Regions from separate parts of the Homo sapiens genome. Here region 2 is linked to region 1. Evidence: promoter capture Hi-C in human tissues and cell types (Jung and others, 2019). All regions are on one chromosome and are shown on one strand. The core of a region is centred on a gene start or on the middle of the fragment in contact, and the rest is flanking DNA. Distances in the headings are between cores, read along the strand shown.

The links. Contacts are between HindIII fragments. The study calls those that stand out against the background at their distance.
Region 2: a contact is called between a fragment that was not itself captured here and the fragment with the promoter of TMEM229A in region 1, in 1 of the 25 tissues and cell types used here (mesenchymal stem cells).

Annotation. Positions count from the first base shown.
Region 1 is chr7:124,030,776-124,036,153 of GRCh38, reverse strand. TMEM229A (transmembrane protein 229A) reads left to right here and starts at 3,087. Exons shown (of 1, transcript NM_001136002.2): 1 at 3,087-5,233. The coding sequence starts at 3,151. The coding sequence ends at 4,293. The HindIII fragment of the contact is 14,772 bases long and covers 1-5,378 here.
Region 2 is chr7:123,756,190-123,761,801 of GRCh38, reverse strand. No RefSeq gene overlaps it. Among named protein-coding and RNA genes, the nearest start is that of WASL-DT, 9.8 kb to the right of the region's middle. The HindIII fragment of the contact is 6,870 bases long and covers 723-5,612 here.

The sequences.
Region 1 (5,378 bases), core at 1,838-4,337:
GCAAGAAATGCTTTTAATCTTTTTATGTTCATAGAGACTCTAATGTGAGGATTTTTAATATAAAATGATGATGATCACTAAAGCTATCCTGCAGTTTTAAAATGAAGAATAGTTTTAGAAATATAGCAATGAAGCACGTAAAACAAAAAGAACAATGTGATGATAAAGCAAAAACAAAGGTTGGCATCATTGCTGGGGTAAGAATGGCACAGAATACTGATTTTTTAAATGAGACCAAAAAAAAGAATTAAAGGTGATATATACCATGAGCATTTTTCTTATACTTTGTCTTATGCCGAGTTTTTTTTGTTTGTCTGTTTGTTTACTTTTTTAAGTTAGTTTCACTCACATTCCGAAATGGTCTAACTAAGAGGCCACAATGAAAATATAAAAGAAACATGGAGAGAATAACAGATCATAGCTGCACTTTCTACTATGCTTTTCTAACTGTTCATTTATATTTTGTATGATTTCTCCTAAGAAAAATGGAAAACCATTTCAGAAAAAGAACCAAAAGAATGAGAAGATTTTTAGTAGTCTAACCCACTTGATAGAGAACTACTGTGAGGACAGTAGTGAGCCCAAACTTTTTATTGAATACTCCTCATTAAAAAATTTAATGTTTCATATGTATATATACACACACATAAATTTTATACATGTTCTATTATACTGTGTAATTTATAAAATATATAAGGTATACAAAATAGAAATTTTTAAATGCTGAAATTAAAAATACAGAAATGAAAGCTCTAATTTTTTTTTAATCCAAAAGATTTTCCTACACTCCCTGGGATGAATTCTAGGTTGGACGACAGATTTTCAAGATTTTCCTTGCATCCTTAAGAAAAGTTAGAATAAATAGAAGACTTGGGCCCTTGAAGTTTAATTTGCTATTTGAAAACAATTCAGGTTTAATATAGCAAGTTAGCATATACATGTTTGAATGACTACATTTATGGTGTTATGAAGAAGTGCTTTCCGTTGTCTAAATAGCAGTTATGGAGAAAGAGTGCATTTGTTTGTAATATCTGATAAATTGGGCCCAGGATTGAGTTTATTTAATGAAATAAAAACTCAAAATAAACATTAATCTAGTAGTACAAACATCTAGTATTTACTATTAAATGATCACGATCAGTTATTATTGATAATAATCATAAGTAGGCTTTATGAAGGCATAATAGATTATTATCATTTTAACTAGATTACACACTTCTTAAAGAGAGCATCTTATAACCCTTTATTTTCCCAGTGTAGGCATAGCAAGGTGCTCACAAAAATGTTTACATTATTTCCCTTCAATGTATTTGCTCAGGCACTTGGGCAACTAGATCAAACCTGGTTTGCAACAAGTTTGATGAACCTGCTACCTGACATTTCTGTCCCTCACATGAAAACTTCCTGACATTCCTGTCCCTGACATGAAAGTTTCTCTTAATTCACAGTCAACTTAGCTACCACAGATTGGAACGTGAGGGGCTGAAATAGGCAAGGAGACAGCGTGAGGAGGAGGTTGCCTTAGAAATAGAGGATCAGCCTCATTATGTCTATTCGCCAGAAGGAAAAAAAAAAATTCCCCAGAAAGCCTTTCATCAAGGGAGGATCTAAACTCTAACACAGAACTGTTATCTATCCGCACATGAATTTCGGGGGAAGGAGGAGAAAGAGGGAGGTAATCGGTATAATTCACCCCCGAGGCTCTTTCCAGTTCCAAGACTGATTCAAAATTGGAGAGAATGGTGGAACCAACACACCAACATTCTGAACCCCTTCCACTCTCTCAACCAAGGAAGGAAGGAAGGAAGGAAGGAAGGAAGGAAGGAAGGAAGGAAGGAGATAAAGAGGGAGGAAGGGAGAGAGAGAGGGAGGGAGGGATTGGAGGGGAGGGGAGGGGAGGGGAGGAAGTAGGGAATGAGGGAAGGGAGAAGAGGGGAGAGGTGAAGGGAGGGAGGGAAAAGATAGAAAAAGATAAACCCTGGCCCTTTATGTCACTCTCCATTTCTGGGATGACCTAGTTCTGCCAAAAGAAGAACCCAGCAGCGGGGTGTGCCAGGACGAGGTACTATTCTCCACCTGAGACCCCACAGTAGCTAGAACAAAGCATTTCCTCTTCTCCACACCCCAACCCAACCCAACTGGCCTGAAATCATTTCACAAATTCTGGGGGACATCGAATCTCTGTCCTTGGCCTTGAGTAAACCCAGAAAAGTAGATGGGCCAAGAAATAGATTGGAAAAGTGGATCAGGCCCCGCGGCAGCAATTTAGATGGAGGGTAACGCAGGGGCGGGCAGGCGTGGAGTCTCGAGTTTATTCTCTATGACTGGGACACAGCTGGCTTTGAATAAGAACATTAAGTATACAGCACCATATTTTGGTCTTGAGCCCAGCCTCCAGCCCGTGGCACTCAGCCATTCGTCTCCGCCAGCCAGGCCCTGGCCCTGATTGCCGCGATGCAGGGAATGCCCATCAACTTGCAGTCACACCTGTTAGGTGTTTCTCCACTCAGTGCCTCCGCCCAGCAAGCGCCCCCCGCACGACCGGAGCCCCTGTGTTGAGTGGGCGCACCGGGAGGAAGAAGCAGGGCCGGGCCTTCCCGAGCAGACCCTGTGGGACTCGGTGCGGCGGGCGGGCGCGTGGGGGCGGCCTGAGAAGGCGGGAGAGGTCGAGGCAGGCGGAGAGGGGCATTGGCAGGGCGGGGGCAGGGCCGCCGCTGCTCGCGTTACGTTCCCAGAGCCTGCAGCGGAGGCGCGGGGCTAAGCAGCGGAGGGGATGGGGCTTCCACAAGCTTCTGCATTTCCCCTCACAGCCCCGGCGCCGCCTCCCCTGGCTGGGCCGCGGTGCCCGTTAGGCCGCGCAGGGTGAGAGCTAGAGCGGGCGCGGGCGGGCGGCACCTCGCCCGGGACTGGAAGGGAGGGCGCAGCGGGGCCACGGCGGGGGGATTCCGCTAGCCGGGCGGCCCGCGAGTCCCCTGAGTGCATCAGCCCCCGCTGCCGCGGGACCGCGGCCGGGACGGAGCTCCCTGCGCGCCCCCCGGGGGCCGGCAGCGGCCAGGAGGCGGCGCGGGGCTCGGCCGCTCGGCCCTGCAGCTCCGCGCACCCGGCAGCGGCGGCGGTGCAGCCTCGGGCGTTCGGACAGCCTCCGAGCCCATGGCGGGGAGCGACGTGGACAGCGAGGGCCCCGCACGGAGGGGCGGCGCGGCGCGGCGTCCGGGGGCCCCTGGCGGGCCAGGAAGCGAGGCGGCAGCCGGCTGCCCGGAGCCGCTGTCCACTGCTGAAGCGCCGGCTGAGAGCGCCACGCTGCCCGCCTGGATGCGCCTCTACTTCTACGGGATGCACGGGATCACCCTGGACGTGCTGGTGTCCTCGGCCCGGCGCTTCGCCCGCAGCCCGGACCTGCGGATGCTAGGCTTCTCCTCGCCCTACCGCTGCCTGCTGCACTCGCTCACCCATTTCGCCCTGGAGAAGGTGTACCTGCAGCAGCGGCGCTGTCCCAACGCCTTCGTCTTCAATTTCCTCCTCTACCCCTCGGCCCACGTGGGGCTGCAGACCCTAGCGGGCCAGGCGCTACTACTCAGCCTGGGCGGCGGGGCGGGGGTCGCGGTGGCGCCAGGGGCGCTGGACCTGGCGCTGCAGTACGTGCTGGCGCTCTACCACTGCCAAGTGTTCCTGAAGCGCTTCCTGCGCTTGCGGTACGGGCGACAGAGGCGGCGGCAGCAGCAACAGCAGCAGCAGCAGCAGCAGCAGCAGCGGAGGGGCGCGCTCCCCGTCCCTCCCGGCGCCCGGGTCCCTACTGCGGCCGGAGCCCGGCGGCGACGACCCCGTGGCCCCAGGGGCGCCGGGGGAGCCCCCAGCCAGGGGCTGCCCGACCTACCCCGCTTTCTTTTCTTCGGAATGCACGGCTTTCTGGATGAGATCTTCTTCACCTTCTTCTTCAACGTACTGGGGCAGGGGGACGGGACAACCAGCGGCCACACGTCGCTCTGGTCCTTCTTTATGTACGGCAGCTGCAGTTTCGTGGTGGAAAAGCTCTACTTCCACCTCCACTACAGCCGCGGTTGGGGCACTTGGAAGCGGGTGCCCATCTACGTGATCTTCATCTACGTGTGGGAGCTGTCCTGGGGTCTGGGACTCCGCACGTGCGGGGCTTGTTCCTGGGACTATTCTCACTACCCGCTCAATTTTATGGGCCTCATCACCCTGATGTATTTACCTGGCTGGATATTCCTTAGTGTGTACCAGGACCTAATTTCCAACGTGTTGTGGAGGGTGCAGTACGTACCAGCTAACTAAAACCAAAAAAGAAAGAAAGAAAAGGAAAAAGTCACTGGATTCCCACGAATGGATGCGATTTATTTTTACACATTTAAAATGAAGTGGGTTTTTTAGTCCTTTAATTTTTATACGCTTTACTAAACTCTTCCAAATTGTTTTATTCCACCTTTTAGTTTTTCTATTTGAAACCCGTGTATAATATACTTTGAAACACTACTCGAAACATAATTCAAAGTACTTTATTTGCCAATGTTTTAAAACATTTACAAGCCCAAACGTTTACACGCCCAAACAGCAAAACCGTTATACCTTAACATCAGAATGATGTAGTAGTGTTTACCCATCTGGCAACAGATGAGTGACAGCTACTAATTTTTTTTTTTTTGGCGGGGGGGGATCTTTAAATCAGAGACCAGTGATTTTTACAAGATTTGGCTAAATTTTCTGATTCAGTGATTTGTTTTACTTTCTTTTTAATCTAATTTCATTTTAATTCCTTGCCATATTTACCAATGACTGAAGAAACTCAATGTCTTGTACTCTTGAGACTACAGTTAATAGCTCTTAAAGTGCCTCCGTCTAGCACACAAGTGAAAAGAGGCTGAAAAATGTGAAAGCACGTTCTATGAACAGATTTTTAAATGAGAGGTCTTTTCTAGCAACTCACACAGGTGACACTGTGTTAAGATATTTGATCTCCATCCTGGAAATGATTGCTTTCCAATGTGGGTAAGCCTTAAACAGCAGGTGTGTTAACGTTGATCAGATCCTGTGTTATCTATGGCTGTAAATTTTTGTTACTGTGCAATAATGTAAAATGTTTACCTTACATAGCCGAGGGCCAAGTGAAATTATATCACCTTCCACAGTGTTCTAACTCCAAGGACCCTTTTCTACATGGAACTTCAAGGGCAGAAACATTACCTTTGAATAAAATGAACCTGAATGTTCACTCTAATTACATTAAGCCTAATTGTTTTCTGTGAATACAGATATGTTTTCATTATATTTCTGCCATGGCTGTTTTTCCTTCTGGGCCCAGAGTCCTTGGGCCAGGCTTGATGTGGTAATGTGCATTATAAATCAATGGTAGCTTTGTGGTG
Region 2 (5,612 bases), core at 2,908-5,407, 280 kb after region 1:
ATCACAAAGAGGGCAATAAAAGCTGTCGACATTAATAGTGTCACTGTTAAGAACACAGGCTCTGCTGTCAAAAGACTCAGATTGGAGTTGCCTCTCTCATTGACCTTGTGCAAGTTTTCTAAATCTGAAACGTGCTGTTAATAATATCTCTTATAAACCACTAAAGAATTAAATGGAAACGTATCTAAAGCATTCAACATGGTGTCAGGCATGTCGTAAGTGCTCGGTAATGCTACCTTATATTATTCTGATGAATCGGATTAGAAAGTTAAAATTCACCTGTCTGGGTGCGGTGGCTCACACCTGTAATCCCAGTACTTCAGGAGGCCGAGGCAGGCAGATCACGAGGTCAGGAGACTGAGACCATCCTGGCTAACATGGTGAAACCCCATCTCCAGTAAAAATACAAAAAAGTAGCCGGGTGTGGTGGTGGGTGCCTGTAGCCACAGCTACTGGGGAGGCTGAGGCAGGAGAATGGGGTAAACCCGGGAGGCGGAGCTTGCAGTGAGCCAAAATCGCGCCACTGCACTCAAGCCTGGGCAACAGAGCGAGACTCTGTCTCAAAAAAAAAAAAAAAAAAAATTAAAATTCACCTATTCACTAAATCTTCTGGGGACCCCTATTCTATTCAAGGCCAAATAAATGAGGCAAAATGATAGAACTCTGGGTGGAATTAATATTTAAGATGCAGAGCCATAGAGAATGGCAAATGAGTGATCATATAAGCAGGATAGAGACACCCTACATAGGACCGATAGACACCATATTGATTGATGGTAGAGAGCTTGCAAAGAAGAAAATGTCCAATTCACATTTAGTTATGTGACAAAAATGTCACATTAAATATTAGATGTCACCCCCAATATTAAAATATTGGGGATGGAAACAAGCTCACATTGCTTGATGAGTGAAAGAGAAAGGAAAGTAGACAATGAGTATAGATTACTGTTTTTAGAAGGTTGTCTGTGAAGAGGAAAGATACGAATTAGTAACAGTCAGGGTATTTACTTATTTAAATTGATTATTTTAATGAAAATAGTTTTTAATTTGAGAGATATCTGAACATATTTATACATTGACCAGAAAGAGCCAATGGAGAAAACAAAACGATGTATATAGGCAAGAAGGGACTCAGAATCACTGATGGAGCAAAAGGAAACAAGGAAATGTAGAGCGCAGCAAAGCAGAAGGCCTTAGGAAGAGCAAAGTGCTTCGCTCAGTGAGTACAGAGATGCCAGACCTAATGGGTGCTTGAGTTACCTTTATTGCCACTTGAAGAATTCCTAGGCTATCAAAGAATTACTGAATTCCATGTTGAGAGAGTGCTAACTACATTAGGATACAGAACACTATGACCATCTGGGAAATAACTGAAAATCAGTTCACCACTGGGAATGAACAGGAACTGGTGGCATGTGCAGCTTCAGGCACTGTGGAAAAGTTCTGGTTCAGAAGGCAGATCTTTGCATTGGGGGAGATGATGATCTTAACAGTGGTCACTATAAGGGAGCTCAACATGAAATGACAGTGTTTAGAGTCAGGGCGTGGAGGAATTGGAATTACTTGGAAATCTGGGAAATCAGCATCAGAAAAGTCCTTCAGCTGTTAGAGCTGGAAGAGGAGATCTATCCTCTTAGACCAATATTTTATAGGCACAAAAACCCTTAACAGATTATCAACAATTGGAATTAAGCAATATTTAAAAAGGGATCATATATCATGATCAACTGGGGTTTATCCCAGGAATGCAAGCCTGTTTCAACATTTTAAAATCAGTGTAATTCCAGGAACAGAAAATCAAACACCGCATGTTCTCACTCATAAGTGGGAGTTGAACAATGAGAACATATGGGCACAGGGAGGGGAACATCACACACTGGGACCTGTGGGGGGTGGTGGGGGGCAAGGGGAGGGATAGCATTAGGAGAAATACCTAATGTAGACGACGGGTTGATGGGTGCAGCAAACCACCATGGGACATGTATACCTATGTAATAAACCTGCACTTCTGCACGTGTATCCCAGAACTTAAAGTATAATAAAAATAAAAATAAAAATCAGTATAATTCACTGTATCAACAGACTAAACAGGAGACAAAATATGAGCTTATTTAACATAAACAGAAAAAGCATTTGACAAAATTTATGAGGAAAACCTCACAGGAAGATGGGATAGAAAAGAACTTCCTCAATTTAATAAATGGCATCTAGCATCATATTTAATGATCACAGATCAAATAAGTAAAAAACAGAAAACCATAAAGAACATCAATGATACCAAAAGAAGTTTCTGTAAAAAGGCCAATAAATTAATAGTAAAACAAAACAATTGTTTGCTTGCCCTAAAATATTAAGAAAATAGTTTTTAATGCATGCAATGTGATTGAATATGCTCCGTAATTTTTGAAAATTTGGCTTAACACTTTTTGACATGGGATCCAAAGGTTTTGCTATAAGGTGAGTTTTATCTATACTATATTTTAGTGGCCATAACTGAAAAGGACGCTTTACAAAACACATGAATATACACCCGCCTGGGAGAAATACACATGAATTTGCTTAGTTGAGCATAATACTTATGTTTTTCAATTGTATTCACCTGTTATAAATTTGTTAAAATTTTGATAGTAATTTTCTTGCAAACTGAGAAGTATTTCATTTCCATATTTTCAGCAAATAAGAAAACACCAAAATTTTTTTACTTGGAAAAATTTTAAACAGGTTTGAAGATTGTTTTTAAGTTTAGAAATACATGTTTTTACAGGTGACATATTTTATCATTTTGAACTTTAAAGTCACATAATGATGGACAAGATTCCAAATGACTGTTTTCAAAACATGCTTTTGACAATGTAAGTTTCTTTTGAGAAGTAGTTACTTTCTCACTCATGGTTAAAAACCTTGAAGCCACATAGTAAATGTGTGCTTTCTTTTTCTTTTTTCAAAAGTATCTACTAACAGTGATTTCTTGTCACTGGAAAGATCAGCACACTTGAACAGTTGTCTGTTTTGTTTTAAAAAAAGTAACATCCTAAGTTTAATGATTCTTATAAGAAATTTACACAAAGATAGACTGTCTTTGTTATTAATTATTTTCATGGTCATCTCCTATCTCATTATGAAGTATTTAAGATACTTTAATTCATAAATTATTAGTTTAGCAGCCCTGGATCAAATCATGAGTTTCACTTTTGGCTGTCTCAGTCCTGTAACTATCAGGGATATATTTTTTTCAGAATTATCATAAAATATCCCTGTAGCAGGCTATCCTCAGAGGCAACATTCATTCATTCTTACTGGTTAATTTATCTAATGCTATCTCACAATTCTTGAATTCCTCACCCTTCTATTATTCGATGGCAAAAACTATGCAGTTACCTAAAGCAAGGGTTGGCAAACTTTTTCTGTAAATGGCCAGATAATAAACATTTGAGGCTTTGCAGGTCATAAGGTTTCTGGTACAACTACTCAACTCTGCTGTTGTAGCATGAAAGCAGTCATAGACAATACTGAAAGAATGGTCATGGCTATGTCCCCCCCAAAAAGCTCTATTTACAAAAGCAGGCAACAGGATAGGTGGAGTGTAGTTTGCTGATCCTGGCCATAAAGCTTTCTAGAACCTCAGAAGTTTCTAGATCCTAATAACCAGAGGCAGTAATGTAATTGTCTGATGCTAGTTTCCCATCTTGGAATATAAATGAGAGTTTCACCACCTCTTGCTCCAGTATAGCCAGGTAAACAGTGCCAAATGACCCAGTTTTCTGAAAGATCTGTTGCTTGTAACCACCTTCATGGTACAAATTTTAGAATACCTAGGGTTTCCAGTTCAGAATCACCTAGAGTTTTTGTAAATAACAGAATCTGACCCAGGCTAGCTAAAGCAAAAGGGAATTTATGGGAAGGATGTTGTGTGCCTCACAGGTCAGCTCATTTTTAAGCAGAGGGCAATTATCCTAGACCATCTTCCTATTCCACTTGATATCAGACTAGCTCATTGTACAAAATAACATCATGCTGAAATGACCGGTAGAGCAGGAAGTTGCAAGTACACTATGTCCTTGGTCACATAAATGAATGCTGGGGGATAGAAATGCCATGAAATATAGGAGCCTGATACCTCAGGGGTGTTTCTGGGGGTCCGTTATTCTGAGGCATGCAGAAATATGTGCTTCAAAATGAAGGACATGTTGCTATTCCTTTCGTGCCTTTCCAGCAAGAACAAGGCTTGGTGGGCCTTTCTGGATGATAATGACAAGAAGGCACAGTTGAGTGCCTTGTTTCAATCACACTGTCCAATGATCACAATGCTGCTATCTCTCAATGGAACTGAGAGCAAAAGAAGACTCTCTAGTAAGTTCAGGCTGAGGTGAGGTAGTGTGTGAATTGTCCCTTATGACACAATAAATCCAAGGGTGCTTGGAGATCCTGAGGAAGATTGGGGTGTTGTATGGACTTGCATTAAAACAGGAAATTGAGACAGGGGAACACGTTTTCCTTCTGTGTGTCAGAACATTATAATGTGCATGCATATAGATACCATCATTATGTGGGAACTGAGTCAACATACCAAGTCAGCCCTGATGCTTGTTATAGCTTTCCTCTTTCATCAGTTCAAAGCTCCAGTCCAACAGAACATATAATAAACACACAATAGCTTCAGTATGAAGAGGATCAAGATGAAAGAAAAGTGCCAATATTCTATCTTCCTAAAAGGAAATTTGAATGTGAGAAAGCGAATATGTAATTTAATTTTTAAACTGATTCTAAGTAAAGATATTGAGAGGAATGACTCCCTAAACTAGGAATGAGGAACTTATTCTAATGTGACCATCGACTCTAAGTTGTTTGCATGTTCAATGTGTTTCCTTCTCTATTAAAAAACAAAACAAAAAAATCAATGAATACTACTAACTTCCAGCCACAGGGAACTGAGAATCATGACTGATGTAACAACTATCAAGTACCATGCAATCCAGTTTTGAATATAAATGGCAAATATTAGATCAATAATTCCATGAAACCACAGTCACCAATTACCCTTCCTTCCTGCTCTGAGGTAACTAAAAGCAGGATTTTTATGTTCTGGGGATTGTATTCTTTACCAATCCCTCTTTCAATAGAGTAGGCTTATGATAAGGCTTATATATTCATTTTCATACCACCAAAAAAGGATTTGTAATAGTGAAAAAGCCATGAAATTGTTTATATTCCCTTATGCACTGCCTTTTACCCATTGCTTTTTAAAATGCAGGATTTTTTTAAAATCCAAAATACATGGGATTGATTATATAATTTTGAGCTGAGAAGGACCTTAGCAATCATTAAGTCATTCCTTTCATTTTACAAATGAGTAAAGAGAAGCATGATGAAGTTGAGTGATTTTAGTAAGATTTCATGGCTAGTTACTATCGGAACTCAGATCAGAAAAGCTATAGCTAATAAATACCTGCTTGCCCTTACAGCTATTTTGCCAGGTGTGAACAATGAAGACATTCCACCTACAGACTCTATCCTATCTAGGTCTTAAACTGACAAGAATAAATCCCAGTGGTTCATTACAAGTTCCGTCCCCTCAAAAGAATATGATTCAAACATAGTTTGTGTAATGCCAT